Regions from separate parts of the Homo sapiens genome. Here all the other regions are linked to region 2. Evidence: promoter capture Hi-C in 16 types of primary human blood cells and fetal thymus (Javierre and others, 2016). All regions are on one chromosome and are shown on one strand. Each heading gives the region's core, a stretch centred on a gene start or on the middle of the fragment in contact. The rest is flanking DNA. Distances are from core to core; before and after follow the strand shown. Region 1 overlaps VIL1 (villin 1). Region 2 holds the start of GPBAR1 (G protein-coupled bile acid receptor 1). Region 3 overlaps USP37 (ubiquitin specific peptidase 37). Region 4 overlaps USP37 (ubiquitin specific peptidase 37). Region 5 overlaps RUFY4 (RUN and FYVE domain containing 4).

The links. Contacts are between HindIII fragments. The CHiCAGO score rates a contact against its expected background, and 5 or more counts as called.
Region 1: a fragment that was not itself captured here is called in contact with the fragment with the promoter of GPBAR1 in region 2 in 1 of 17 cell types (neutrophils); the score reaches 7.4 in neutrophils.
Region 3: a contact is called between a fragment that was not itself captured here and the fragment with the promoter of GPBAR1 in region 2, in 3 of 17 cell types (neutrophils, monocytes and naive CD4 T cells). The highest score is 10.7, in neutrophils.
Region 4: a fragment that was not itself captured here is called in contact with the fragment with the promoter of GPBAR1 in region 2 in 6 of 17 cell types (neutrophils, monocytes, total CD8 T cells and 3 more); the score reaches 15.5 in neutrophils.
Region 5: a contact is called between a fragment that was not itself captured here and the fragment with the promoter of GPBAR1 in region 2, in 1 of 17 cell types (neutrophils). The highest score is 6.1, in neutrophils.

What each region holds. Positions count from the first base shown.
Region 1 is chr2:218,439,526-218,442,225 of GRCh38, reverse strand. VIL1 (villin 1) reads right to left here. Exons shown (of 20, transcript NM_007127.3): 19 at 1,364-1,504. Among named protein-coding and RNA genes, the nearest start is that of VIL1, 22 kb to the right of the region's middle. The HindIII fragment of the contact is 5,722 bases long and covers 1-2,700 here.
Region 2 is chr2:218,259,653-218,262,352 of GRCh38, reverse strand. GPBAR1 (G protein-coupled bile acid receptor 1) reads right to left here and starts at 1,338. Exons shown (of 2, transcript NM_170699.3): 1 at 1,137-1,338. RefSeq lists an enhancer at 86-891. The HindIII fragment of the contact is 11,967 bases long and covers 1-2,700 here.
Region 3 is chr2:218,461,229-218,464,067 of GRCh38, reverse strand. It overlaps USP37 (ubiquitin specific peptidase 37), which reads left to right. Exons shown (of 26, transcript NM_020935.3): 22 at 702-762. Among named protein-coding and RNA genes, the nearest start is that of VIL1, 44 kb to the right of the region's middle. The HindIII fragment of the contact is 7,620 bases long and covers 1-2,839 here.
Region 4 is chr2:218,481,707-218,484,497 of GRCh38, reverse strand. USP37 (ubiquitin specific peptidase 37) reads left to right here. Exons shown (of 26, transcript NM_020935.3): 17 at 2,264-2,428. Among named protein-coding and RNA genes, the nearest start is that of VIL1, 64 kb to the right of the region's middle. The HindIII fragment of the contact is 768 bases long and covers 962-1,729 here.
Region 5 is chr2:218,074,915-218,077,614 of GRCh38, reverse strand. It overlaps RUFY4 (RUN and FYVE domain containing 4), which reads right to left. Exons shown (of 13, transcript NM_198483.4): 9 at 1,875-2,522; 10 at 1,082-1,188. Among named protein-coding and RNA genes, the nearest start is that of RUFY4, 7.0 kb to the right of the region's middle. RefSeq lists an enhancer at 1,086-1,587. The HindIII fragment of the contact is 2,489 bases long and covers 166-2,654 here.

The DNA of each region.
Region 1 (2,700 bases), core at 119-2,618, 180 kb before region 2:
TGATGCTATTTTCTCTTCTCTCATACTCTTTATCCAGTAATTACCAAATATCATTGATTTTACCTCCTAAATGTTTCTCTCCACCTCCTCCACCATGACTTGTTCTAGGTTCCCACCTACCTGTCGGCCTGAGAGCAGCTGTGCTGTCTCTCCTAACTGGTGTTCCTATGGCTGCTCTTGCCACCTTCCAGGCTATTGTTCGATGAGAAGCTATAATTATTATTATTATTATCATTTTGAGATGGAGTTACACTCTTGTCGCCCAGGCTGGAGTGCAATGGTGAAATCTCGGCTCACTGCAACCTCCACCTCCTGGGTTCAAGTGATTCTCCTGCCTCAGCATCCCGAGTAGCTGGGATTATAGGCACAAGCCACCATGCCCGGCTATTTTTGTAATTTTAGTAGAGATGGGGTTTCACCATGTTGGCCAGGCTGGTCTCGAACACCTGACCTCAGGTGATCCGCATTCCTCGGCCTCTCAAAGTGCTGGGATTACAGGCATGAGCCACCGTGCCAGGCCAATGTAAGTCTGTCACTCTGCTACTTCAACCATAATGATACTCCCCTTCACCACCAGGATACATGATACGATCCTTAACTTGGGGTAGAAGGCACTGCCAGTTCAGCCCTGCCTCCCTCCCTGGCTCTGCACACCACCACAGCCACTCTGGCCCTCTTGCAGTTTTGCCCCCATTTTTATTCCTTGCCTTTGGGCTTCATGTTAGCTGTCCCTTCTCCAGAACTAACTTACTTTGCCTCAATAATTCCTATTTGTCTTTCAGAAAGAAATCTCTAAATCAGGCTCCTCTTTGTAATACCTTTTTTTTTTTTCTTTTTTTGAGACAGTCTCACTCTGTCACCCAGGGTGGAGTGCAGTGGCATGATCTTGACTCACTGCAACCTCCACCTCCCGGGTTCAAGCAATTCTCATGGCTCAGCCTCCCGAGTAGCTGGGATTACAGGCATACACCACCACACCTGGCTAATTTTTGTAGTTTTAGTAGAGATGGGGTTTCCCCATATTGGTCAGGCTGGTCTCAAACTCCTGACCTCAGGTGATCCACCCACCTCGGCCTCCCAAAGTGCTGGGATTACAGGCATGAGCCACTGCACCCGGCCCTGTTTGTAATACTCTTCACAGCTCCTGTACTTCACCTTTCTGGCACTTAACCCTGAAATTAAATAATAGTGTAACCAGGCTTCTCTGATCTCTCTCCTCCTGGGATATAAGGTGGCATGAAGGCAGGATCCCATCTGTCTTGTTCATCCCCAGCACCTAGTCACCTGCAGGGCCAAATCTGGGAGTCAACTATGGTGGTCCAACAAATGGACTTCTTTGTCTTCCTTTGAGAATCTGACCTACCTCCTTCCTGCTGGGGTCCACACCCTCGGGGAGCTCCTCTACAGGCTTGTTCACTAGCTGCTCCAGGGGGAAGATGGGCAGAGGCCCAGAACTGAGGTTGCTGTTAGCATTGAACACGTCCACTTTGGGGCTTGTGACCTCCTAGGAAAGAAAAGGAAACCACTGGTTACTTTAGCTGGTGCACAGCTACCTCCCAGGCTGCCTTTCTCTCTGAAGTCTCTAGGGCACCACCTTCAAGAAGCCTCCCATGTCCCACCCCACCCTGCCACACACACACTCATAAGAACAACATAGGCTGGGTGCAGTGGCTCACGCCTGTAATCCCAGCACTTTGGGAGGCTGAGGTGGGTGGATCACTTGAGGTCAGGAGTTCAAGACCAGCCTGTCTAACATGGTGAAACCGCATCTCTACTAAAAATACAAAACTTAGCCAGGTGTGGTGTCAGGCGCCTGTAATCCCATCTACTCAGGAGGCTGAGGTAGGAGAATCGTTTGAACCTGGGAGGTGGAGGTTGCAGTGAGCTGAGATTGCGCCACTGCACTTCAGCCTGGGCAACAGAGAGAGACTCCTCAAAACAACAACAACAACAACATAGAGCTTAGTGGTCTGTTCTGACCGAAGTCCATTGGTGGAAAATGACTCTTTTCTTTAACGATTCATTAACTTTCCCATGGCTTTCCCCAGAGTTGGAGATCTAGCCTGGATATTTATGACCCTGTCTCTCTTATCTGTTGTGAAATTGTCATCTATAAATTCACTTAACCTTGACCTATCTATACATGCCAGTCTGTACTGTCAGTCCACCAAGAAGGGTTTCATGAGTGCTGCAGGTTTTGACCATCTGTTGATTATACCCCAGTGTGCTTGTGAACTTGCTCTTGAATTCTGGACACATTCCTCAGAGTTAGCTCTGTCTTGTTCTCTCTATAAGCCTGTGAACTTCTCAAAGCAAAGGTTTTGATTTCATATTCCCGTGTCCCAGGCCTAAAGGCTAAATACATTTTTTTTCTTTTCTTTTTTCGGGTTTTTTTTTTTTTTTTTTTTTGAGACAGGGTCTGACTCTGTTGCCCAGGCTGGAGTGCAGTGGCACAATTTCAGCTAACTGCAACCTCTGCCTCCTGGGTTCAAACCAACCTCCCACCTCAGCCTCCTGAGTAGCTGGGACCACAAGCACGCACCACCACACCTGGCTGTTTTTTATTTTTTGTAAAGATGGGGTTTCCCCATGTTACGAAGACTAGTCTCAAACTCCTGGGCTCAAGCAATCCACCCACCTCGGCCTCCCAAAGTGCTGAGATTACAGGCGTGAGCCACTGTGCCCAGCCTAAATACACTT
Region 2 (2,700 bases), core at 89-2,588:
CTTGTTTAGACTGAAAGGCGGGCCCATCCAGCCCCAAAGCATTTTGTGTATCCCTGCCTCCACCGGGGAGGCCTCTAAATGAGAGAATGGACCAGGGCTGGCTGGTGTGTAGTGGTCTTCCAGCCAGCCATTAGGTGACAGGCTCCAGCGGGCCAGGTCTCGGGCACCCTGCACCCTTCCCCCCATCTGTCCTTGTAGCCATCACAGCTCAGTGAGCAGCCTCCGGGTAGGACTTCCAGCCCATAAACTTGACTCGTCTTTGCTCCACACTAGCAACAGGGTCCTTCCTGGGAGCTGGAGGGAGGAGAGAAGCAGCTGGAGGGCACGTGTGGCAGTGAACGTGGAGATGCCAGCAGCAAGGAGAGGGACTCCCCCACACCCCCAGGCCTGAGGCTGAGCCCAGAGGAGAGGGAAGAGGAGTCTGGGCAGAGTCTGGCTTCTCTGTGGCTCTCATCTGTCCCTGTCCTTCCCGTCATTCCCTGGTCTCAGTCCTCCAGTGTCATGGCTCTGCTGCCACATCCTGGGGACAGGGGGAGGGGTCCTGGGTCCTGTGGGAACTCCTGCTTCTGTCAACAGGGGAGCAGCTGCTGTTGCTAGGATCCAAGTCAATAAGGAAAGGATTCATACCTCTCCCCTCCTCCAGGACAGGGGATCAGGGCCCCATGGCTGCCCTGAGCTGAGAGGAAGGAAGATGCTCCCCTTCCTTCCCAGGTTCCCCCAGCACCCTGAGCCTGGGCCTCCAAGGCCTTATGCCCCCTTTCCCCTCCCCTAAGCATGTTTTCTCTTTCTCAATCTCTTCCAGTGCCCTCCACCCAGGATGTCTTTTCCTCTCTAGAGGCCTTGCAGTTTCTGTTCCCTTTCCCAGGGCATCATCAACTCTCTTAAGTCCCGTGAGACTCAGGGTCCATTACCCCAAACCTGGCCTGAGCTGGAGCTCCCAGCCCTAATCGGAATGATTCCCCCCAACCCACCTCCACTAGAACAGCGACAAAGGCAGGGAGCAGCCCCCAGGGGTGATTTCCCAGCAGGGTGCAGGCTGTACCACCTGCACACCCCCGAGGGTCTGGTGGCTTGGGCTGGGTGTAGTAGCCTCTCCAGGATCTGGGGTTTGGGGGTTTGGGGGAGTAGCTACTCACATGGCTGTTGGGAGCAGGTATTGCCTGCCCAGCCTGGGCCTTCCTGAGTGTCAGGGAGTTGCTGCAGCCAGCCCTGCAGCGGTTTGGACCATGTCTGGTGTCCTGGCTGAAGAGCACAAGTGGACCAAGTGCATGGTGTCTCCACCCAGTGGGGACAGCGGGGCCAGGCTCTCCTACCCAGGCTCTGCCCGTCTGGGTTCTCAGAGGGATAGAGAAATGAGGCTGGCAGGACTCAGCCCTGGCCCCGCCTCTGGGAGGGTGGGACCTGACATATTCCAAACTGCAGCAACTGGGAGGCCTGCCTCCCCCTCCCACCCAGTTCCCCTCTCCCCCTGCCACCTAGGTGGCAGTTTCCCTACTCCAGCTCGGAGTAATCTGAGAAATGCATTCCAGTTAATGAATAATAATGATTGACTTACCCCTCCCGACTTCCCGCCTCAGCTGATGCATTTACATTTAAGCCCCTGGACTGGCCAGCCAGCTGACAGCACACCAGGCTCCCTCCACACTTCCGTGTGTGATGGTGGCAGTGGCAGGTGTTTGGGGCCTGAGGATCTTCACTCCCCCATCCCATCACCTGATGGGCCTTTCAGTTTCTAAGGCCAGACTTGCCTTCCTGAATCTGGGGTCATTCCACACTTTTCTCAACTGCTTTCTGAGTCAAGTTCTGAACTATGAGGGACAAATGGCTCTGGGGATGTGACCATGGGTAAGGTACTACTGGGCCTCGGTTTTTGCCTGTGTTAAAATGGGAACAAGAAAAACCACCTCTAATTAAGGTCGTGGTGGGGAATATCACAGGATAACACATATGGCGGCATATACCCCAGTGCATGGCCCTTGATGGGTGGGGGTTTGCCCCAACAAATGGCTCCCTCTCTTTCCTCCCCCATGATGAAGAGGCATGAGCTGGCGCTGGAATCAGAGCTGTCTGGATCCTTTTTTAAAAAAGCCAGTGAACTTGGGCAAATGACTAAAGTTCCCTTGCCTTAGTTTCCTCATCTGTCAAATGGGGCCCATAGTTGTACTCACCTATCGTGAGACTAAATGAAGTCCCGTGTGATGAGGACTCAGATCAACACTTGGCCCTTCAGCACTCCGCGACAGGCAGCGATCGCTGGGAACATTATTAGGATTTCTGCCTTTCTCTGCACCTGGCCCCTCTAAGACAGATCTGCTGAGAGGGGCGCATGGGGAGCTTGGGAAAAGCAAGAGGGGAGTGACACTCTTGCTGCACAGGGAAGCTGAGGAAACCAGATACATTGAGAGGGAAGGGCAAGTTCAAGGCTGGGAAGCCAGAAGTGGTGCTTTGATTTCCACCTTGTATCAAGTGCGGCTTTGGAGTGAGGGGGAGGAGAGAAGCCCAGCCACACTCCCTTAAGGCCTGAAATGGGAGGGAACAGGCGGAAATTGCAGCAGGAAAGCTGGGACTGGGGGTGAGACATTAGGAAACACTTGCTGGCTGAAGAGCGCAAGTAAATGGAGCAAAGGGACTCTGGTGCTCTCCGGGAGAGCTGGGCCTGAAGGGCTGGAAGCCCGTGGAGTGTGGCTGTGCCAGCTCTGC
Region 3 (2,839 bases), core at 259-2,758, 200 kb before region 2:
GGCCAACATGGTGAAACCCCATCTCTACTAAAAATACAAAAAAAATTAACTGGGTGTGGTGGCACGCACCTGTAGTCCCAGCCACCCGGGAGGCTGAGACAGGAGAATCGCTTGAACCTGGGAGGTAGAGGATGCAGTGAGCCGAGATCGTGCCACTGCCCTCCAGCCTGCCAACAGAGCAAGACTCCCTCTCAAAAAAAAAAAAAAAAAAAATCTTAAAAAATACTGGAGTGGGCCGGGCGCAGTGGCTCACACTTGTAATCCCAGCACTTTGGGAAGCCGAGGTGGGCGGATCACAAGGTCAGGAGATTGAGACCACCCTGGCTAACATGGTGAAACCCCATCTCTACTAAAAATACAAAAAATTAGCTAGACGTGGTGGCGGGCGCCTGTAGTCCCAGCTACTTGGGAGGCTGAGGCGGGAGAATGGCGTGAACCCAGGAGGCGGAGCTTGCATTGAGCCGAGATCACACCACTGCACTCCAGCCTGGGGGACAGAGCGAGACTCCGTCTCAAAAAAAAAAAAAAAAAAAAAAAGTAAAGAACTTCCCCACATTCCTCAAAAGGTAATATTCCAAACATCCATAAGGTTATAGAAAGCATTCTTAGCAAATGCTTCCAGAGAAACTGATTTTATCCTCATTAAGTAAGTTTAATCAGTACCTCTTTAAATACCTTAGTTTTTGTTCTTTTCCCTTTAGGAGGCTTGGGAACAGAAAGAAGATGATGACCTCAAAAGAGCTACCGAGTTAAGTCTTCAAGGTGTGGAGATCTTTTTAATTACATTTTTTTAATGGTAAAATTACCATTCACACATAGAAGAACATATAAAGAAAGTGTGTGTGTGTGTGTGTGTGTGTGTGTGTGTGTGTGTGTGTGTGTGTGTGTGTGTTTATTGTGGGGGAGAGCCTCTCACTCTGTCACCCAGGCTGGAGTGCAGTGGTGCAATCTTGGCTCACTGCAACCTCCACGTCCTGGGTACAAGCAATTCTCATGCCTCAGCCTCCCGAGTAGCTGGAATTAGCGGTTGTGCCACCACACCCAGCTAATTTTTGTATTTTCAGTAGAGACGGGGTTTCACCATGTTGGCCAAGGCTGGTCTTGAACTCCTGGCTTCAAGTGATCCACCCTCCTCAGCCTCCCAAAGTGCCGAGATTACAAGCTAAAATGTGTTTTTTGATAACAAATTTGAATACCTCCCAGGTAAAGAAATAGAACCTTAGAAGTAACCTTTATATCTCTCCTTTTTGTCTTCCTCCCAGAGGAAACCACTATTCTAACATTTGTATTCATCTTCAGCTTGCTTTTTTCAAAATAATTTTTGTCATCTATACCCATATCTCTAACAATATGTTTTTTAATATTGAAAAATTAGCAAGAACAATCTATCATCTGTTTAATGAAAGAATTATAATTTTGCCACTGTTACGACTCCTAGAAGAACATAATGTGGCTTCAGTTTCCCCGTGAATTTTCAAGAGCTTATTCTGGGGCAGTCAGTGGGCAGTCATGAGTGAGTGTATTCAGTAGCATAAGGTTCACATGTCGTAGCATTTGGCAGAACTAATATGTGGACCAGGTTTTAGAAGTCCATGAGTTAGGAAGCTGGAAGAAGTAGATGTAGGAATCTGTTTCTCAAACAGCTTTTACCTAATCTTTATTTTATCCCCTCCTTATCCCCCAGTTTCAGAGGTACCTGGTTCCTGGTTCTTCCATGTCTTCATTTTTTTGGAGACAGGGTCATGCTCTGTTGCCCAGGGCCTGGAGTGCAGAGGCGTGATCTCTGCTCACTGCAACCTCTGCCTCCCGGATTCAAGTGATTCTTGTGCCTCAGCCTCCTGAGTAGCTGGGACTATAGGCGTGCACCACCACACCCAGCTAATTTTTTAATTTTTTTTTTTTCTTTTTTTGAGACAGAGTTTCACTCTTGTTGCCGAGGCTGGAGTGCAATGGCACAATCTTGGCTCACTGCAAACTCAGCATCCCAGGTTCAAGCAGTTCTCCTGCCTCAGCTTCCCAAGTAGCTGGGATTACAGGCACCCACCACCACATCCAGCTAAATTTTGTATTTTTAGTAGAGATGAGGTTTCACCATGTTGGCCAGGCAGGTCTCGAACTCTTGACCTTAGGTGATCCACCTGCGTTGGCCTCCCAAAGTGTTGGGATTGCAGGTGTGAGCCACCGTGCCCAGGTTCCAGCTAATTTTTTATATTTCATTTTAGTAGAGATGGAGTTTTGGCATGTTGCCCAGGCTGGTCTCGAACTCCTGATCTCAGGCAGTTCACCCACCCGCCTCGGCCTCCCAAAGTCCTAGGATTAGAGGTGTGAGCCACCATGCCTGGCCTAGTTCTTCCATGTCTTCTTGTGTCTTTTGAACATTCAGTGATATAAATTGGATTAGTTTTCAACTTTTCCATTGCTGGCTTGGGGTATGGCTTTGGCTTTCTTAGGTCTGCTGAGTCAGTCACACATGTATTTCCAACTTCCAGAATTTTGAAGCTATATTCTCTTTTCCTGTTCTTCACATTCTTAGATTTTCTTTTTTCTTTTTTTTTTCTTTTGAGATGGAGTTTCTCTCTTGTTGCCCAGGCTGGAGTGCAGTGGCGTGATCTTGGCTCACTGCAACTTCTGCCTCCTGAGTTCAAGCGATTCTCCTGCCTCAGCCTCCCAAGTAGCTGGGATTACAGGCATGTGCCACCATGCCCAGCTAATTTTGTATTTTTAGTAGAGGTGGAGTTTACCATGTTGGTCAGGCTGGTCTCCAGCTCCTGACCTCAGGTAATCCACCTGCCTCGGCCTCCCAAAGTGCTGGGATTACAGGTGTGAGCCACCGTGCCTG
Region 4 (2,791 bases), core at 96-2,595, 220 kb before region 2:
GCTGTATGCCACCACACCTGGCTAATTTTTGTATTTTTAGTAGAGACGGGGTTTTGCCATGTTGACCAGGTTGGTCTTGAACTCCTGACCTCAGGTGATCCACCTGCCTTGGCCTCCCAAAGTGCTGGGATTATAGGCATAAGCCACCGCGCCGGGCCAAGGAAGTTGGTTTTAAAGAAATGACTTTATAAAGGCTGGGTGTGGTGGTTCACGCCTGTAATCTCAACATTTTGAGAAGCCAAGGTGGAAGGTTTGCTTGAGACCAAGAGTTCAAGACCAGCCTGGGCAACATGGTGAGACCCCCATCTCTACAAAAAATGTTGTGTTTTTTGTTTTTTTCAAACAGAGTCTCGTTCTGTTGCCCAGGCTGGAATGCGGTGGCATGATCTCGGCTCACTGCAACCCCCGCCTCCTGGGTTCAAGCGATTCTCCTGCCTCAGCCTCCTGAGTAGCTGGGATTACAGGAACGCGCCACCACGCCTGGCTAATTTTTGTGTTTTTGGTAGAGACAGGGTCGCGCCGTGTTGGCCAGGCTGGTCTCAAACTCCTGACCTCAGGTGATGTGGCCGCCTCGGCCTCCTCAAGTGTATAAATCATAGCAGTATTATTATATTGACTTAAGAGACTTATATTTTTGGATTAAGAGAATTTGTTCTTTCCTGTTTGTGAGTGGTTTGAGGCCAGGAAGGTGGGAGGAAGAATCTTAAGGCAAAGAATTGGTTGTTACCAGCTGTCACTAAGGAAATTATGTGTACAGTTAAAAAGACTAGTTTTGACCTCACATGCTGGATGTCTTTTCTCTTTCCCATTCTCTTGCTATTTGGTTTTTCAAGTGGGGGGAAAAAAATGCTAAGGGGAATTTTTCTCCTTGTTTTTCTTTCTTTTTTTTCTTTTTTTTTTTTTTCCTGGTAGATCACTTGTGTTAAAGGTTAATTTATTCCAGACTTATGTGATAGAAGCTTCTGTTTGTCAAATCCTAATATTAGTTTTGTTCTACTTTTGTTCAATTTAATATTCAAAGCCACTCTTTAAATCCTAATGATTAGTCTTGTTCTACTTTTGTTCAGTTTAATATTCAAAGCCACTCTTATTCTTGAAGAGCCTGATGCCATTATCAAATCTGTTCACAAAGTTGGGCCTCATCTTTGAAGATCAGTGATTTTGACTATCATTTTCCTGTTTTATATTACCTTCCCCCCCACCTTTTACTGCTCCATGCATAGCAGGGCTACACTATAGGCAGTGTGTCCAGAGTAGCCTCATATTACCTTTTATTTTGGTTAGGTTATTTGAAATTCTAGTTAAAATATTTAATTTTGACATTGGTTTCATATCAGTTGTGTCCTTGTATTCTCTCAAATTGTATATTTGAAGATCCTGAGTTCTAGCACGCTTTTTAAAGAGAACTACAATCTATAACTTCAGTTTGCAAATTTTTGTTTGTGGCTTCTGTGATGAAGGCATATATGGTAAGAATCAGTTTTTTATAGATCATTTTTGTGTGTGTGCCTAGAACTGAAGTTTATTCCCATAAGATGTTTGAAATTCAATTTTTAAAGTGTTCTTGTGGGTTGAGAAATATATTTAATCCATCAAGCAGAGATCGTGTTCTGTGTGAGAAGTGAAAAGGTTACCACAATTTTAACCACAAAGAATTCAGTGCTTCTAAAGAGCTAAAAGCCTTTACAGACCCACAGATCAGATTTGGCATGCAAATTTTTGTAAAGCTTTTTTCTAAATGGGGAAAAGTTTTGTATTTCCTCCTTAGCTTTCTACAGAGAAAGTACTTCTGAAAATAAAAGAATAATTCTCATCAAAAATCATCTTGAAGTAATTAATGTTTACCATCAAATATAAGAGCTATGTAACATTTTAATAGACATTATTTTACTAGTAGTGGTTATATAAAACCTATTGCTTTTTAAACTATGTAACAGTGAAGTAAATAATTTAAGGATTTAACCCAATATCAGTGCCAAATTTAACATTCTTGTCTGCTATATTTTATTTATTTGTGTTTTTTCTAGGAACATTATAAGTATTTTACCCAAACCACACTAATCCACCATTATTTGTATGCTTTTTACCTAGCCCAATGCCTGGCACTAACAGGTATTCAGTAAATATTCTTTGACGTGTCTTTGGTTTGGCCAAATGGATTTTTTAAATCAAAAGTCGTCTAACATAGAGTGATCTCTTTTACTGTAAGAAAGATACATGTATTATGTATGAATTAGTAAGGTTGTCATCTCCTGTTTTTCAGGGTCCTCATTCTCCATTTGAAACGATATAGCTTCAATGTGGCTCTCTCGCTTAACAATAAGATTGGGCAGCAAGTCATCATTCCAAGATACCTGACCCTGTCATCTCATTGCACTGAAAATACAAAACCACCTTTTACCCTTGGTTGGAGTGCACATATGGCAATGTAAGTCCTTGAGAGACTATGTCTTTATATTCCCTTTTGAAATAGAAAGGCTTTAGTATCTAATCAAAAGAATGACTGAATTACATAATATGACTCCAAGGTAAAATCAGATCAATGGCCAGATGCAGTGGCTCATGCCTGTAATCCCAGCACTTTGGGAGGCTGAGGCAGGAGAATCGCTTGAGCCTAGGAGTTTGAAACCACCTATGGCAACAGAGCATGACCTCATCTCTACAAAAAATAAAATAATAAAGCCAGCATGGTGGCACACACCTGTAGTGCCAGCTACTCGAGGCTGAGGTGGGAGGATTGCTGGAGCCTGGGAGATGAAGGCTGCAGTGAATGGTGATCAGAGCAAGACCC
Region 5 (2,700 bases), core at 161-2,660, 180 kb after region 2:
GCAGGTGGGCAGACTGACGTACCCGGAGACCACAGGAGAGAGACACAGAGAGGCTGAGTCAGGCCACGGAAGATCTCTGCAGTGAGAAGAGACTTTAAAAAATAAATTATGGGCTGGGTGTGGTGGCTCATGCCTGCAACCCTAGCACTTTGGAAGGCTGAAGCTTGAGCCTAGGAATTTGAGACCAGTCTGCACCATGTAGTGAGACCTCGTCTCTACAAAAAGAAAGAGAGAGAGAGAGAGAGAAACTGAGACCTGAGAGACTGAGGACTGAGGGGGGATGGTAGAGACAGACAGCGTGCTGTGGGCCCCTGAGGTCAATGTGATGACGGAAGATGAAGACACTGGATGGTGAGAGACACTGAGCAGGAGAAACGGAGAGACTGAAGTGCAGGCACTCGACATGCTGCCTGAATGGGGCGTCTGAGCCCACTGGTTCTGGAGTCAGCTGCAGGCCTTGAATCTCAGCTCCCCCGCTAACTAGCCAATGGTGGGTGAATTGTGCAGCATCTTTGAGCCTCAGCTTCCTCCTCTATAAAATGGGGGTTCTATAGAACTCATCTCATAAGGGTGTTACGCAGAAGCACCGACAGCAGTGCCTGGGACGTAGTAAATGCTTAGTAAATGATAGCTGTGATTATGAGAGGGTGAGAGGTGGCATAACAGGAAGAAGCAAATGAGACACAAAGAAACTGAGTAAAAAAGGGAGACAGAAAGAGATGGGGGAAAGAAGTCCAGTGGAGTAGGGAGGCAGAGAGGGTGAAAAAGAGAGAGGAGCTGCCCAGGGGAGGCAGCAGAGGGAGGCAGGGGTGAGGGTGGGAAGGAAGCAGGCCAGGAGGCGGGGCCTTTCCTGGGGCTGCTCCTGCTCTGGGAGACCTACGAGAAAGGGATGCACAGAGGAGGGAGGGTGGAGCCCTGGGATCAGGAGCAATGCCCTGCAGGCCTCAGATCCCAAAGGTGTGCCCAGTCCAGGGCCTGGTGCATGGGAGGTTCTCACAAGACCTCACTGGCTTGACCGTGATTGACAGCAGGACCTAGGGAGCACTTCCAGGTGCCCTGTGCTGTGGGTTGCCAAGGTTACCTGCTGAGCTGCTCCCGAAGTGCCTGCAGCTCCCCCTCCTGCTCCCTCAGCAGCTGCTCCTGGCGCTGGGCCTGCTCCTCAGCCTTCCGGAGCCCAAGTCTGAGGCTCTGTGGGGTGGAAGGAGGGGAGAAGGAGGCTGAAGGAGAAGGGCAGAGACCCCAGTGCTGGGGCTGACCTGAACAACATTCCCGAGAGACCCCAGGCCATGCCCTGGCAGGGCTGGGGACAGTGCTGGGAGCTGTGATGCCTGGCTCTGTCCTAGGCCCTGCTTCTGGGTGTGCCTGGGCCACGGTTTCTTCCTTCACTGAAGGGTGGAAGTTGTAAACTCAGAAACTTGCAAGTTCCTGGGTGGAGGCCGAAGGGAGGCTTGGTGACAATCTTGAGTGACCTCCAGGAGAAGCATCCACCACAGGAGCAACTAGGTGGGCTCTGCAACAGTAGAACTTAGATTTCGGGAAGAGACTTACCATCATGAGGATATGGAACTGGAGAGAGGAAGTGACTGCCTGGAAGAACTGCTGGGAAGGGATCTCAAACTCCAAAGCCTACTGGGGCTGGGCAAGAAGTATTGCCGAATAAAGTGGGTCTAGCGTGGGGCAATAGGGAGAGGCGGGGACTGTGGGGACCTGAAGAATGTATGGCTTTCAAAGGCATCCCCAAATAATAATCCTGAGTGGGCCAATAAAAATTGACCCGTGGGAGGGAATGGTCCCAGGCTACCATTGCAGACCCTCATCTGTGGGCCAGGTCAGACAGGGGCAAATAACCAGGTATGGAGCTCAACTGTTCTCACCTTGATCTCGTCCTGCAGGGACACCTCGGCTTGCTCCTCCCTTCTGGCCACAAGGGTCACTTCTGTTTGCACTTGTGGATTCTCCACGGTAGAGTCTTCCTTTGTTGCGTGTCCCTGAAGGACCCAGGGCTCCCCCAGGATGCTAGAGCCCCCCGACCCCTGCCTGCTCCCTGATACTGCTCCCTCTACAGCCCCTCTGGGGCTGGGCATCAGCAGCCTCTGGACGTGACTCCACTCTGCTTCCTTTTTGTGAGTCCCCTCTGTTGTTCTCTGACCCTCTGCAACCAGCAGAACCCCTGTGACCTCAGCCTCCATCCCTATCACCTCCTTCTGAGTGCCCATAGCCCCCTTCCCCTGTCCCTGGGTGCTGGGTGTTGAGTTCCCCAGGAAGATCTCAATCCATGGGGCTCTTTCCTCCTGGTCTAGCTGAAGCTCCTTCCCTTCTGGCTCCCACATGCTCTGGGGGTACCTATGTTTCCTGGAACTTTCCCCCTTCTTTTCCAAAAAGAAAGGAAGATGCCTTTGTTGCTGGGACCTGGGAAGCCCTGCCAGCTGCTGTCCACTGGGTGCATCTTGCAGACAGATGGCTTGACTGGTGTGTGAGTCCTCAATCTGGACATTTTCAGGCCCTCCATATGCGGCTGGGATCTGTGGAGAGGACCCAAAACCAGTCATCCCTCTCAGCACCAATTCACTGACCTGGTGCCATTAGATTAGGCCACAGTGCTAATCTAATCAGCTTGCTAAATAGATAGGTACCAGGTCCTCTCACTGGAAGCTTTGATTTATCAAACCCCAAATCTGACTTTTAGCAACACCCAGGTGA